Regions from separate parts of the Homo sapiens genome. Here region 1 is linked to region 2. The links are contacts of gene promoters, found by promoter capture Hi-C in human tissues and cell types (Jung and others, 2019). All regions are on one chromosome and are shown on one strand. Each heading gives the region's core, a stretch centred on a gene start or on the middle of the fragment in contact. The rest is flanking DNA. Distances are from core to core; before and after follow the strand shown. Region 1 overlaps ARF3 (ARF GTPase 3). Region 2 holds the start of ADCY6 (adenylate cyclase 6).

The links. The method cuts DNA at HindIII sites, captures the fragments that hold promoters and counts their contacts. A contact is called where the count stands out against the background at its distance.
Region 1: a contact is called between a fragment that was not itself captured here and the fragment with the promoter of ADCY6 in region 2, in 1 of the 25 tissues and cell types used here (adrenal gland).

The regions. Positions count from the first base shown.
Region 1 is chr12:48,929,813-48,937,270 of GRCh38, reverse strand. ARF3 (ARF GTPase 3) reads left to right here. Exons shown (of 5, transcript NM_001659.3): 5 at 1-1,548. It also overlaps a transcript of FKBP11 not described here. Among named protein-coding and RNA genes, the nearest start is that of FKBP11, 8.0 kb to the right of the region's middle. RefSeq lists a silencer at 593-782. The HindIII fragment of the contact is 5,943 bases long and covers 1-5,759 here.
Region 2 is chr12:48,783,927-48,790,559 of GRCh38, reverse strand. ADCY6 (adenylate cyclase 6) reads left to right here and starts at 1,471. Exons shown (of 22, transcript NM_015270.5): 1 at 1,471-1,654. It overlaps ADCY6-DT (ADCY6 divergent transcript), which reads right to left and starts at 1,413. Exons shown (of 3, transcript NR_110019.1): 1 at 1,333-1,413; 2 at 441-575; 3 at 25-247. RefSeq lists an enhancer at 2,524-3,068. The HindIII fragment of the contact is 15,533 bases long and covers 1-6,633 here.

The DNA of each region.
Region 1 (7,458 bases), core at 1,539-4,038, 150 kb before region 2:
CCCCTTCCCAGTAGGGCTGTCCCAAGCCCCACTCCATGGGGCCAGGTTTCCTGGCCACTTTTGTTGATAGCAGATGGATCAATATTAGTAACCCCATCCAAGATTGAACTGTGAAAGAGAGGTTCCAGGGGTATCTCCCTCAGTGCCAGTTACTTAGTGATGTGTTACCCAGGATGCAGCAGGTGTGTGCAGGTATCTTGCTCTCTAGGCCTGTGTGTGTGTGTGAGTGTGTGTGTATATGGGTGTGGGTGTGTTTGTGTGTGGTGGTTGTGGGGGGGGTGTTGGAGGTTCTATTTCATTTAAAAATGTATTCATTTCCCTGGCCCCACAGATGCTTCCCTCCATACTTTTTATTTGCTCTGTTTCCTCAGATTTATTTTGTCTTGCCCCATTGCCTCTCCTTCCTTGAACTCTTTCCTTTTCAATCTCAACTCATTCACTGCTGTTGCTCATTTGCCCTTTTCCATGTATTTTTTCCTACTTAGGATTTTCCACTCTATCTTTGTGGTTCATGAGGACTTTGCCTCTTCTCCTGCCTCATTCCCTGACTTTCTCTAGTTAGATGTCAGTCCTAAATAGGTTTTCCTCACTTCAGGCCTCACCCCTCACCTTGTTTTTTTGGGGGCTCCAGGGACCAATCTGGGGCTGGAAATGTTAGGAGGTTGCCTTGGTGCTGCCCCAGATCTGTCCAGCAGGGGGCAGTAAGTGATCTTGGTAGTATCCCTGGCTGCTAAGCCCTTGGCAGGGGTGGTCCTTTCTACATTCCCATTCACTTAACAGCTCTTTTGGGATTGGGTGTTTCATTCCATTTCTGCCCACTCCCTCTCCTCTCCTCTCTGGTAGGTTTAATTTTATGCTTTCCCTGATTCCAGCTTTCTGCTTCCTGAGGACTCCCGCTCCCCCCACCCCAAAGTTTGTCTGTGGTGTTATAGTGGTAACTGCAGTTCCTCCTCTGGAATGTAGACTGTATATGTTTAATAACTCACCTTCTCTATCCTTGCTCAAAATGTGGGATAACGCGATGACTGTGACCCTGGTTGGAAATTAAACTTGTTTTATGCAGCTTTGGAGCCGACCTTCATCTTTGCTGTGCAGCAGCCGTGGGACAGTAGTTTCATGGTGAGGGGAGTCCTGTTTCTGGTCCCTCTCTCCATAGTGCTCCTTCTTTCAGCAAAGGGGTAAAAGGCACACTTGATTGATAGAGAGTAAGGTTATGGAGGAACTTAGTGCCACTCCACACTGGTTATTTCTTCCCATCATACCCCGCGGCGGGGGAGCCCAAATGAATTGGGCATCAGAGTGTGAGGGCTTCGTGACTTTCCTCCTCTAGTTCTAAAGGGTTTAAACCTGAAATCAGCTGTATTTCTCACCTGTTGGTAGACTGTATGGACTTCACTGGCTGAAGGGCCCTGAACTTGGAGGGCCCCATGTGCCTCTACTCTCAGATCTCCTCAGCCTTGCACATGAGGTGCTTCTAGTTTGAACAGAGACCCCCTCACTAGTCTAGTTCTGGACTTTGGCAGTGAATAAACATGAAGGATAAACGTCTGGGCAGTGTAATGACCTTAATCCTTCTTACAACTGATGGCCCTGCATCAGCTCTACTTCAGGCGTGTGGTTTTTCATTGTCAGGATGCCAAGCCTCATCCAGAGATCCCACAAATGTCTTGAGGAATAGACCTTTTCCATAAAGCCTCCATCCTCCCATCGCACTCCCACCACTATTCTGTTCCTCCCCTGCTACCAGTGTCTGGCTCCAGGCAAAGAAAGGGATGGTGCTACCTTTAGGGTGGGTGAGGTCTGGGTGAGCCAGGCAAGCCTTCCCCAATCTTAATATTTTCTTAAGCTTTGAGGACAGAGGTCTTCCCAGCCTGCTTTTGTGGGAAAGGGATAGGATTTAGGCATATAATAAGTTTGAGAGCCCCAAGTACCAGTGTGAAGCATATAATTTATATTCAGTTACTTCCCTGCTGCCTCCCCTGCCAATTTTCCTTTTCAGCACTTCTATTATTAATAGGCCATCACCCTCAAGGACCAGTGCTTCCACCCATATATAACTCTCAAACTACTCCAACCAGACATGTCTTATCAATCCCAATGACTTTGAACATTACCCACCTACTCCTCAAGATCAGATGACACTTTCCTCCTTCCAGGCTTCTCCAAAGTTCTGCTTGGTGACAGGGTGCTGATAAGAGTATCTTTCCCAAGTGTTTTCTTTCTTCTTCTTCTTTTTTTTTTTTTTTTTTTTTGAGACGGAATTTGGTCTTGTTGCCCAGGCTGGAGGGCAATGGCACGATATCGGCTCACCACAGCCTCTCCTCCTGGGCTCCCGGGTTCAAGCAATTCTCCTGCTTCAGCCTCCTGAGGAGCTGGGATTACAGGCATGCGCCACCACACCCGGCTAATTTTGTATTTTTAGTAGAGATGGGTTTCTCCATGTTAGTGAGACTGGTCTTGAACTCCTGACCTCAGGTGATCTGCCCACCTCAGCCTCCCAAAGTGCTAGGATTACAGGCGTGAGCCACCACGCCCGGCCAGGTGTTTTATTTCTATATTAGCAAATAGATATCTTTCAGAGCTACAACCTCTCATAATGATAAGGGAGAGGACTTTAGCTGAATGGTGGGCCACTGGGGGGTCTTTGGACCCCTGAACAACTTGGGGAAGAGGATGACCTATTCCCATCTGTCCCTTAGTACTCAATTTAGAATGCCAGGAAGGAAGTAGAGGGGAGCCCTCTTGTGGCAGTTGCTGAAGCCTTCCAGTTCTTTTGAGGGGATAGGGGATGAAGAGGAGACTGAACCTGGGAGGTAGATACTTAGCACCCAGCTCTTAGGACAAACAGCAATCCCATCTTCCAGAACATGCATAGCATCAGTCATGGACTGGCGGAAGACTTGGACCCAGGGTCCACTTCAGGATAATCTGGGCAAGGGAGCTTCCCAAATGAGCCTGTAGAAAGCCAGTGGAAGGGCTTAGGTTGGCTAAGGTGGGATGGAGGGCAAAACCCTCCCCTTCATTGCAGAGTATAGGGGCAGTGGCAGAGAATGAATGTATGTGTGGGTTTCTCAGCCTTGAGGTATAAGGTCTAAAGGCTCTGGGGATTCACTGCATACACCACTTCCAGTTCAAGCGCCTAGGTTGGTTACAGCAGGAAGTTGACAAGTATGTATTTAGTACATTCGATGTTTTTAGGCATCTGCTAAAAGTAGGTCAAACCACTGAACTCAGGGAGGGGGCTGGGGATCCATTTCTAGGATGCTGTGGAATCCTTTTGGGACATCTGTAGTATACCACGTTGGGTAGTGAGAGTTGGGGGACACCCCTTCCATTGCTGCTGCTTAGTGTAGGGAGTCATGTCTTTGGGCAGCAGTAATATTATTAAGAAAAGCTTTTTTTTTTTTTGAGACACAGTCTCTGTCACCCAGGCCGGAATGCAGTGGCGTGATCTCGGCTCACTGTAACCTCTGCCTCCCAGGTTCAAGCGATTCTTGTGCCTCAGCCTTTTCCGAGTTGCTGGGATTATGAGTGCACACCACAACTCCCTGCTAATTTTTTTTTTTTTTTTTGAGACGGAGTCTCACTCTTGCCCAAGCTGGAGTGCAATGGCGTGATCTCGGCTCACTGCAACCTCTGCCTCTCAGGTTCAAGCAATTCTCCTGCCTCAGCCTCCGAGTAGCTGGGACTACAGGTATGTGCCACCATGCCCAGCTGATTTTTCTATTTTTAGTAGAGATGGGGTTTCACCATGTTGGCCAGGCTGGTCTTGAACTTGTGACCTCAAGTGATTCGCCCACCTTGGCCTCCCAAAGCACTGGGATTACAGGCATGAGCCACCGTGCCTGGCAGAAAAGCTTCTTTTCCAGTTCTGAAGAGTGTGAAGGTAGGAGAGCCAGAATTCAGTTCTCTCACTTTCCAACCCAGTACCTGGAGAGAGAGTGTCTTGCTGGTCACTGGGGAGTGATAGGATCCGGATGCCCGCCTTCCTCTTCAAGTTTTTCTTTCTGATTGGGTTTCCTGACCCTGATTGCTGGTATGGGTAAGAATGACTCTGAATTCCTGAGAAAAGGGAAGAGGGTTAGGACAGAGGAAATGGAATCATTTAGTCAGGTAAAGGGAGCAAAGCCACCGAAGGCAGTGGTTGGAGGTGTAGATGTGAGGAAGTTGGGTTGAGACCATTCACCATCAAGGCTTGAAGATGAGTGTCTGTTTGTGTGTGTCATGTTGGCTGTGAGTTGCAGAAGAGAGTATCTGGCCTCTAGTTGAGGAGCACTTCCGGCTTCTGAGCTGAACATGGTGTAGAAGAGAGGATACTCAATCCAAAACCCTGGCTATCTATGCAGAGGGCTGACCAGTTCTACCCATGTACCCTTCCTTCCCTCACCCTTCCTCACAAACCAGGCATATTGAGAGCTGTCTGGCAGTCAATCCAGGCGAGGCAGCAGGTTTGAGAATGGGCTTGTCCGCCTGGCACCTGCTTCCCCCCACTTCCACCTTCACCCCTCCATCCCATATATCGTTCAGGGTCCTCCCAGCACAGAATTGAATAGAAGGACTTTTAAGGCTTGGAGGGCTTAGCTTGGGGCTCTAACCCACAGGAATTCTTTCTGAGTTCTGAATATAGTAATAAAGGGCACTCTTGGCCTTAGGTTATAGATAGGAGATGGGGAATCTGTTCTTGTCTTTGCCAAATCTTGCATTTATGGGATGATACCTCTTTGATTAGAACAGCCATAGGGGAAGAGTGGAGGAAGTAAGTAAGTGCTTCATTCTTGGATGAATATATGCATAAACATACCTGAAAGAAAACATCTAGTCAGCTGGGGGTATGTATACCCTTGAAAATACAACACCAGGCCAGGCATGGTGGCTCAATTCTATAACCTCAACACTTTGGGAGGCTTAGGTGGGAGGATAGCTTGAGCCCAGGAGTTTGAGATCAACCTGGGCAACATGGTGAGGCCCCATCTCTATAAGAAAAAAAAAAAAAAAAAAAAAAAAAAAAATATATATATATATATATATATATATATATATATAAATATATGTTTATATGATATATATACAATTATATGTTTATATTATATATATATATATATTTTTACTTTTATTTAAAAAAAATAGAGATGGGATTTCACTATGTTGCCCAAGCTGGTTTCAAACTCCTGGGCTCAAGCAGTCCTCCCACCCCAGCCTCCCAAAGTGCTGGATTTACAGGCATGAGCCATTGTGCCCGGCCAAAAAAAAATGTTTTTAATTAGTTGGGCATGGTGGCACGTGCCTGTGGTCCCAGCTACTCAGGAGGCTGAGGCAGGAGGATTGCTTGAGCCTGAGAGATTGAGGCTGCAGTGAGCTGTGTTTGCGCCACCGCACTGGTGACACAGCAAGACCCTGTCTCAACCAAAATCAAATTTTAAACCCAAATTTATATATGCCAACTCAGGCTTTTACTTTATTAACAACCTGTTATAAATAAACACTTAAGAACATTTAAAGAGCAGTGTTCTGCTTATTCTTTGGCACATAATAGTCATGCAACCTTGATGAACAAATGGATGAATTAATAAACACCATTGTCTTTAATCAAGCTGGGCATGGTGGGTGCCCCATGAGTCTTGGAAGCCCAGGTACTGTGGTAGGGTTTCTCCTACACACTGACAGAGACACCTTTGAGTGTGGAGGCTTTTCTAGCAATGGTTCTGTGATTAAGTTGTATCTCCAGCCAGGGGTGGGCCAACTCTCCTATCTTTCCAAGAATCATCTCACCTTTCTCTGTTGTTTGGATTTCTTCTAACTTGATCCAAGGAAAAAGCTCCTTCTCTGGTCCCTCCAGGGTGCAGATGGGCTTGTGCTGCCTGTGGGTGGATATTGTGTTTAATAGTTTTGCCCTTTCCATTTCTACTACCACCTTCTCCTACTCCACTCCTCTTCCCCTTCAGGTTCCTGAACAGAGCCTCAGACCTGGATAAGACAATAGCCTTCCACCTTCACCACACTGTTCGAGTCTGCTGATACATCAGTGCAGTATGCTGTGTCATCCTTTTGCTTAGAAACTTGCAATGTGTTCCCACTGCCTTAGTCTGACATTCAAGGTTCTTCACAACTAGCCTTTTTTTTTTTTTTTTTTTTTTTTTTTTTTAAGCTGGAGTCTCGCTCTGTCGCCCAGGCTGGAGTGCAGTGGCGCGATCTCGGCTCACTGCAAGCTCCGCCTCCTGGGTTCACGCCATTCTCCTGCCTCAGCCTCCCGAGTAGCTGGGACTACAGGTACCCGCCACCACGCCTGGCTAATTTTTTGTAATTTTAGTAGAGACGGGGTTTCACCGTGTTAGCCAGGATGGGTCTCGATATCCTGACCTCGTGATCCGCCCGCCTCGGCCTCCCAAAGTGCTGGGATTACAGGCGTGAGCCACTGCACCCGGCCTACAACTAGCCCTTAATTCCCTCTCCAGCCACCTCTCTCTAGTCTCTGGCCAAATCCCTTACTTTAGCCAAATCAGTCCATTCATTTTTCCCAAACATCTGGCCCTCTGCCTTCACCTCCTTTCTCACTTGTTTAAAAATCCCACTCCAAGATCTAGCTCAAGTTTCACCTCCTCCACAAAGCTGCCTGTGCCCTCTGCAACTACAAGGACTTTTATAGTTTTTCCCCACGTTGGCTCCTTTAGCTCTGTTAGCACAACTCATTTAACACCTCCCACTCATTCCCTTGTATTGCTATATATCTTGTTTATTCGTGTAATATTTAATATTAAAAATTATTTTTATAACCTGAGAAGTAACATCTGAGCAGGAAAAAAATTATAACCAAAGTAATTTCTATTGTAAAAGATCCAAACAATACAAAAATATACAGAGCAACATGTGGGACATTGCCCTTACTCTTCTCTCTCCCATGCCCAAACGTAACCATCCTCAGCTATTTGATGTGCATCCTTCTAGTTCCTTTTTTAAATGTATGTGCTGACACATGTTTGTGGAGGGGTTAAAATATAAATGGGCTCATATCACATCTGTTATTCTGCTACTTGCTTTTTTACTTAGGGTATATATACATTTGTCTTAGAGATTTTCTATATTAGTGTAATTAGATCTCCTTTTAATGGCTTCTCAGTATTTCATAGTATAATTTCTTCAAAGTAAAACATACTGTCTAGAATCTATTATTTGGAGGCTATCGTGTAGCTAGTACTTAGCTCCAGACATGATTGCAACCTTGACCTTGCCATCAGTTAGCTGGCTCTTTGGGGGAGATAGGAAGGGAGGAATGGGGCATACACAAATAACTGCAACAAAAGGAAAAATATAATAATGTCCACAAGTGTATGCCTGGAGATCCTAGCTAAGAGAATCAGGACTTCACAGAGGAAATGATATTTGAGCTTAGCCTGGAGGGAGCTTGACAGGTAAAAGAAGTGTATGAGTTCAGGCACAGAGATGGAAACAGAAGATGTAGGT
Region 2 (6,633 bases), core at 222-2,721:
CTCTATCTGATTCTGAAAACCCTGTAAGAAAGACAAGGCAGATGGTTTTATTCCCATTTCAAGAGATTGATGATTTACCCAAGGTATATAGTTTGCAGGTACACGTGGCTGATAAATGTTGGAAACTGGCTTTCCCAACTCTTCTTTTCCTTGCCTGAAGCTCTGTCCTGGACTTAGGAATCCCAGTGGTGATTTGGAGTGGACAAGACTTGAGTCTTGAAGGACAGGACTGCAGGGAGGGCTGGTCCTGAGGAGGAAGCATCTTCAGATACCTAGGTCTTGGGATCTTGGGTGGGGAATAGGCTGCTTGGGGAAGGGCTGAATTGGAAGGAGGAGCTAGAGGTCTGACTGAGGGAATGGAGAGGGGGCCTCAAAAGGAAGCCAGGCAGGCTGCCTTCTTCCCAGCTCCAGAATGGCACCCCCTCTAAAGTCACACTCACCTACGTACATCCTGGAGTGAAACTCCTTCTCCTTTCTGCTTCCACCATTACTCTAATCCTCAAAGGGTTAACCAGCTTTCACACGATTTTCCCATCTCCCAGGTAACTTGGGCAGCTGCTCCGTGCTGGAAATAACTAAAGACCCAGTTTCTCAGTTCGTGCACTTAGCAATGCACCCCAGTAGCCCCTCCAACCCCCAGCAGAGAAGCACAGCCCTTTGGGTAAAAGATGCCTGGGGGTGAGGCTGCAAGTTGGCAGGTGCGGGGGAGGGGCTCCCAGAGAGTAGGGCGGGGGGTTGTGGGGGCGGCAGGGAGAGTGCCCCTTCCCTGGGTCCCTCCACTGGGCCCCGAGGTTCGCCTCGGGGCCGCTGCCCCAGAGACTGGGGGGAAGAGGAAAGAAGTGGTGTGCGGGCAAGCAGGCCGCACACACCTGGCGCCTTGTGGAATGAGAGCTTAATTAATTATTAAACTGAGTTCCCGCGGGAGGGCGCAGGGCCGTGACAGGCAGGGCGGGAATGGCTAGGTGGGGGCTGGGGCTGGGGCAGGGGCAGGGAGGAATTGGGGATGAAGAGTGGGCGCGGGGCGCCGGCCCAACCCCTGGGACCCTGACAGGAAGGAAGGCGACCCTCGGTGGGCGGGGCGGGGGATGTAGCCGTGAGGGGTGGGTTTGCGGGCGCGCTCGGGGACCCCCGGGGTGAGGGCGGGAGAGGAATGCCGGAGGAGGCGGCCGGGGTGAAGGGAAGGGGACCGGGCTGCGAGGTCCCCTCCCCGCGGGGTCTTGATCCCAGAACAGTAGCTGCTTGTCTTCCCAGGACTGGGGGAGGAAGCGGCCGGAGGAGAGGAGGGGGCGCGCGGAGGGAGGGGTCCCATTATTTGGCCTCCTCCGCCCCTACCCCGCTGCTAGGAAGGGGAGTGGGCAACTCGGCCCCCACTTCTGGGGAGGGGGAGGGGGATGCCCAGACAAAAGGAGCTTGTGCCTTTAAGGCGGGGAGTCCGGGAGCCAGCGGGGAGGGGACTTCTGGATCCGGGGTAGAGGGCGGCTGCGCTGGACAGCTCGGGAGGGGGCGAGGGCCGGGCGGACGGCGGACGGCGGACGGCGGGCGGGACGGCCAGGACGCGCGGGCTCGGAGGACCGCGGGACGGCCGGCCGGCCGGCCGGAGCCCGCGGGGGCGGCGGGGCGGGGGCCCAGGGCAGGCGCGGAGCCGGGCCGGCAGGTGAGCGCGCTGAGGGCTAGGGGAAGTGGCCGCTCGGGCTCCCGGTGCGCCAGGATTGGAACGCACCCGAGCGGCTCTCGACAAGAGTTTGTGGGTGGGGGCGCCGAAGCCTTGGACGGGTCGTCTCGGCAGTGTTGCCCGAGGGAGTTGGGGTTGGCAAAGGGAAGTCATGGAGGCAGTGGGATCGAGGACTCCTAGGTCCGGCGCTCGCCACCCCCGTCGCCCGCCGCCTGCCTCCCTCCACGGGGCGAGTTCCAGGCTGGCCCGGAGGCCAGGAGGATCTGGCACGTACTGGGGGAGGGGCTGGCCTGAGTTTTTTGCTGCGGGGCTGTGGGGTGTCTCCGAGTTTGGGGGAGATTCCATTTAGGGGAGAGGAACCGGCCTGGGCAGAGGGAGGGATGCCCTCTGTCTGCGGGAGTCCCTCTCCTTCCCCTCACCCAAAACCTTGGGAATGAAAGGGGTGGGGTCGGCTCCCCACATCCCCCAAGGCCTGCCGCAGGGTGGGCAGGGGAGCTGACTTTATTCAAAGCAGACTCTGGGGCTCGACTGAAAGGCTAGAGGTGGAATCAGGCGTGGGAGCCTCTTTGCCCATATCCTCTCCTTACCAGATTACCCCTGTGAGCTGGAGGGACCTGGTGGGGGTTGCATAGTAAAGGGTGATGTGGGAGCCCTCTGTAATCTTTAGGGAGAGTGAGGACTGGGGATGGGAGAAGGCGGCAGCGGGCACTGGACCGACAGATACAGGCCCTGGGTAGGCTCCTCTACATCTGGAAAGGCCCAGAATTGAAGAATTGAGGCCCATGTCCGAGTATGGTGGGTGGTGCTGGCACTGCTGGGCCCCGCCTGGGCAGTGCCTCTTACCATGAACTTTCTGAAGTCGTTTTTAATCCCCTGGAGCCTCCTTTTGCCAAGGAGGGCAGGGGCAGATGGGCCCTGGGGATGGGATAGACAGGAGGTGGCCAGGAAGGCTTGGCAAGGCAGTGGGCAGAGCCATCCTTAGGGCTGGGCCTTGGCCTTGGCTGGTTCCAAACTCTGGTCTCAGCCTGATCAGGGTTTGGGAGGGACTTGAGGTCTGGGAGGCACTGAGCCTGGGCCTGCCAGGCTGAATGGGACATGGCTGTGGCTGTGGGAGCCGGTGGTATGAAGAACAGCAGATCTGTGAGAGTGCAAATGGACCAACACTCAGGGGAGGAGAAGGTAGAGGCACAAGGCTTAGGAGCCTGACTCTGGGGAGGAGGGAGGTGGTCTGTGCTCCCAGGGCTCATAGTGATGGGTTGCTGGACAAAGTGGGTTGGGGGACCATATAGAGAAATTTTGTGGCTTGGAACAGTGCTCTACCCTGTTTCCTGCCATACCAGTCTGGCATGGGGTGCCAGAAATGTTGGGAGGCCGGCAAGTTCTGCGGGATGGGCAGTGCCTGGAGTGGAGCCCAGGGTGGGATGGTTGCAGTTGGTTGGACAATTACATAGCTCTGAAGCTATCCCCTTGGGGGGGGTCAGAGTGTTCCTGGGAGGGTCATGCATTCTCCTGGATAGCATTTGCCCCTTTCTCTGTGAGTATGAGCCAGATGCTAGGATGTGTTTCCAGGGGGCTTGGAACATGGCCAGAAACTAGTCCTTTGGGAACAGGTCCGGGCCAGTGCTGGTGGGGGTGGTGTGTTGGGGGAGATAAGAACAGGGAAGGGGACTGGTGAATGGAGGAGGCTGAAGCAAAATGTTGTGGGTGGTGGATGGTGGTGGGAAACCTGCTCACTCTGGGCTCTGTCTCCAGCAGCTCTGGGGACTGACAGCCAAGGACACAGGGACTGATAGAACCAGGCATCTGACTGGCTAGAAAGACGTGTGTTCTTGCTCATGATTTCCTCATCTTTCCATCTCTTGACGATGACAGAGGTTTGGGTTTAAAGTGTTGTAGAGTGAGGAGAAGAACTAATATTTTTCAAGTGTGTACTTCTTGACAGGCATTATTAGATTCTTTCCTGAGGACCATTATCATTTCCATTTTGCAGATGAAGGTACTGACACAGAGAGGTTAAATAACTTGCCCAAGGCAGTGTGGCTAGCAAATAATCACGCTAAGGTTTGGAACCCTGGTCTCATGCCAAAGATCATGCTTCTAATGAAGTATTTTGAAGAGCAAGGCTTTCTTTGGTGACCTTTTCCAAATGCCAGCCTGACCAAAAGTCTTGTATTCCTGATCTGTCCTTCCAGATGGTGCTGTTGGTGATGTTAAGAGGTTGAAGGGGCCAGGCATGGTGGCTCATGCCTATACTCCCAGCACTTTGGGAGGCCGAGACAGGCAGATCACCTGAGGTTAGGAGTTCGAGACCAGCCTGGCCAACATGGTTAAACCCTGTCTGTACTAAAAATACAAAATTTAGCCGGGTGTGGTGGTAGGTGCTTGTAATCTCAGCTATGGGGAAGCCGAGGCAGAATTGCTTGAACCCAGGAGGCAGAGGTTGCAGTGAGCTGAGATTGTGCCACTGCACTCCAGCCTAGGTGGGGCAGAGTGAGACTCCGTCTTAAACCAAAAAACAAAAGGAGGTTGAAGGACGTGCTGCTCTGTGGGATATAGGAGAAGGGGTGCTGACAGATCTTGGCTGAGGGTGACTCAGGGATGGGAGGTTTGGGGTATGCAGAGAATTCCCCAGCCTGCCTTCTGCGTGTGGGTCCCTGGGTGTCTGCTTCAAGCGCTGCCCATCTGGCTTGAGCTCTCATTCTATGGCCACCTGGGGCAAGTGCTGAGTATTCCTCCATCCTGTCCCCGAGTGAGTACAAATGTCAGTGCTGCTAGCTCAGCAGGTTTAATTACAAGGGACCCCTCAGGGTACTCTGTGAGCATAGAGGAGTGTGGCCCTGGTGGGGACACAGGCATGCATGGATGACAGTGCTGTCAGCCTCATCTTATTCTGACCTGGGCTCAGCCAGGAGTCACATTAAAGGTATCATCATGGAGTCCTCCCACCTCAGTTCATGACATTTCCTCCAGGAAATGTGGGATCTGGGACTGATTTGGTTACCATGATCTCTATAACTTGGGCCAGCCATATAAAACTGCCATGGACCTCAGTTTTTGTTTATATATATTTTTCCTTTCAAATTTGTCTTGTGCCCCAGGGGGCAACAGGACCAGTTTCTCAGGGTTTTGGTGAAGATCAGATGGAATTAGGGATGTGAAAAGATCTTGAACAGTTTAAAGCATAGAGAAAGTGCATGGAGTATCATTCGTCCATCCATCCAGTCATCCATCTACTCAATGAACATTTATTATTATTATTTTATTTTTTGAGATGGAGTTTCGCTCTTATTGCCCAAGCTGGAGCGCAATGGTGTGATCTCAGCTCACTGCAACCTCTGCCTCCTGGATTTAAGTGATTCTCTCACCTCAGCCTCCCGAATAGCTGGGATTACAGGCATGCGCCACCATGCCTGGCTAATTTTGTGTTTTTAGTAGAAATGGGGTTTCACCATGTTGGTCCGGCTGGTCTCGAACTCCTGACCTCAGGTGATCCACTCACCTCGGCTTCCCAAAGTGCTGGGATTACAAGTGTGGGCCACCATACCTGGCCTCAATGAACACTTGTTTAGGTCCTTCTAAGGGTTGTGGATACAGCAGTGAGCACAGCAGGTCAAAATCCTTGCCTTCATAAGGCTGACATTCCAGTCAGGAGAGACAGAAAATGAACACATAAGAAAAATATATAGAATGGCAGTTGCTGATTAGAGCTATGGAGAAAAAGCATAAAGCTGGGAAAAAGATAGAGAGCTCCAGGAAAGGGGGTTGCTATTTTAATAGGGTGGTCAGAGGGAGCCTCACTGATAAGGGGACATTTGGGATGTGACCTGGAGGAGCTCTTGTTCCAGACAGAGGGAACAGCAGGCACTGAGGTCCCAGGCTGGCCTGTGCGGGGTGTGTTGGGAAACAGCAAAGAGGTTCTTGTGACTGGGGTGCAGTGAGGAAGCTGAAGAGCCTTAGGATTATCACTGTTAGCTGGTGGCAGATCATGAGGTCAGGAGATCGAGACCATCCTAGCTAACACAGTGAAACTCCGTCTCTACTAAAAAATAGAAAAAATTTCCCTGGGCATGGTGGCAGGCGCCTGTAGTCCCAGCTATTTGGGAGGCTGAATGGTGTGAACCCGGGAGGCGGAGCTTGCAGTGAGCCAAGATCGTGCCACTGCACTCCAGCCTGGGTGACAGAGTGAGACTCCGTCTCAAAAAAAAAAAAAAAAAAAAAAAAACTCCAGATTTTTTCTTCTGCTTCTGTTGAGAAAAATCAGATCGGGACCCACTGGGACCCAGTGGCAACAGTCTACAGCTGCTGGGTGGTGCCTGCCCCATGCACAGGGTATGAACTCTTTTCCTCCCAGTTCTGAACCATAAGCTGCTTCACTCATTGACTTGGGCACTTGAGTTTGTGACCACCAACAAACAGTGCCTTTTAGGGAAATTTTCAAGTATACTGGCTTTGGGGTCAGACAAATCTGGTTTAGAATCGTGGTTCTCTCACTTATGTGGCTGCTGGATCTTTGGGCAACTCTTTCTTCTTTTCTTTTCTTTGTATTTTATTTTATTTTATTTTATTTTATTTCCCTCCCTTCCCTCCCTTCCTTCCCTCTCTCCCTCCCTCCCTCCTTTTTTCCTTCCTTCCTTTTTTTTTTTTTTTTCAGGCTATGGCTATTGCCCAGGCTAGAGTTCAGTGGTGCACAATCCTGGCTCACTGCAGCCTCCACCACCAGGGCCCAAGCAATCCTCCTGCCTTAGCCTCCTGAATGGCCCGGTCTATAGGTGCATACCACCACACCAGGCTAATTTTTTTTTTTTTGAGACGGAGTCTCACTCTGTCACCCAGGCTGGAGTGCAATGGCGCGATCTTTGCTCACTGCAACCTCTGCCACCCGGGTTCAAGCAATTCTCCTGCCTCAGCTCCTGAGTAGCTGGGATTACAGGCGCCCGCCACCACGCCCGGCTAATTTTTGT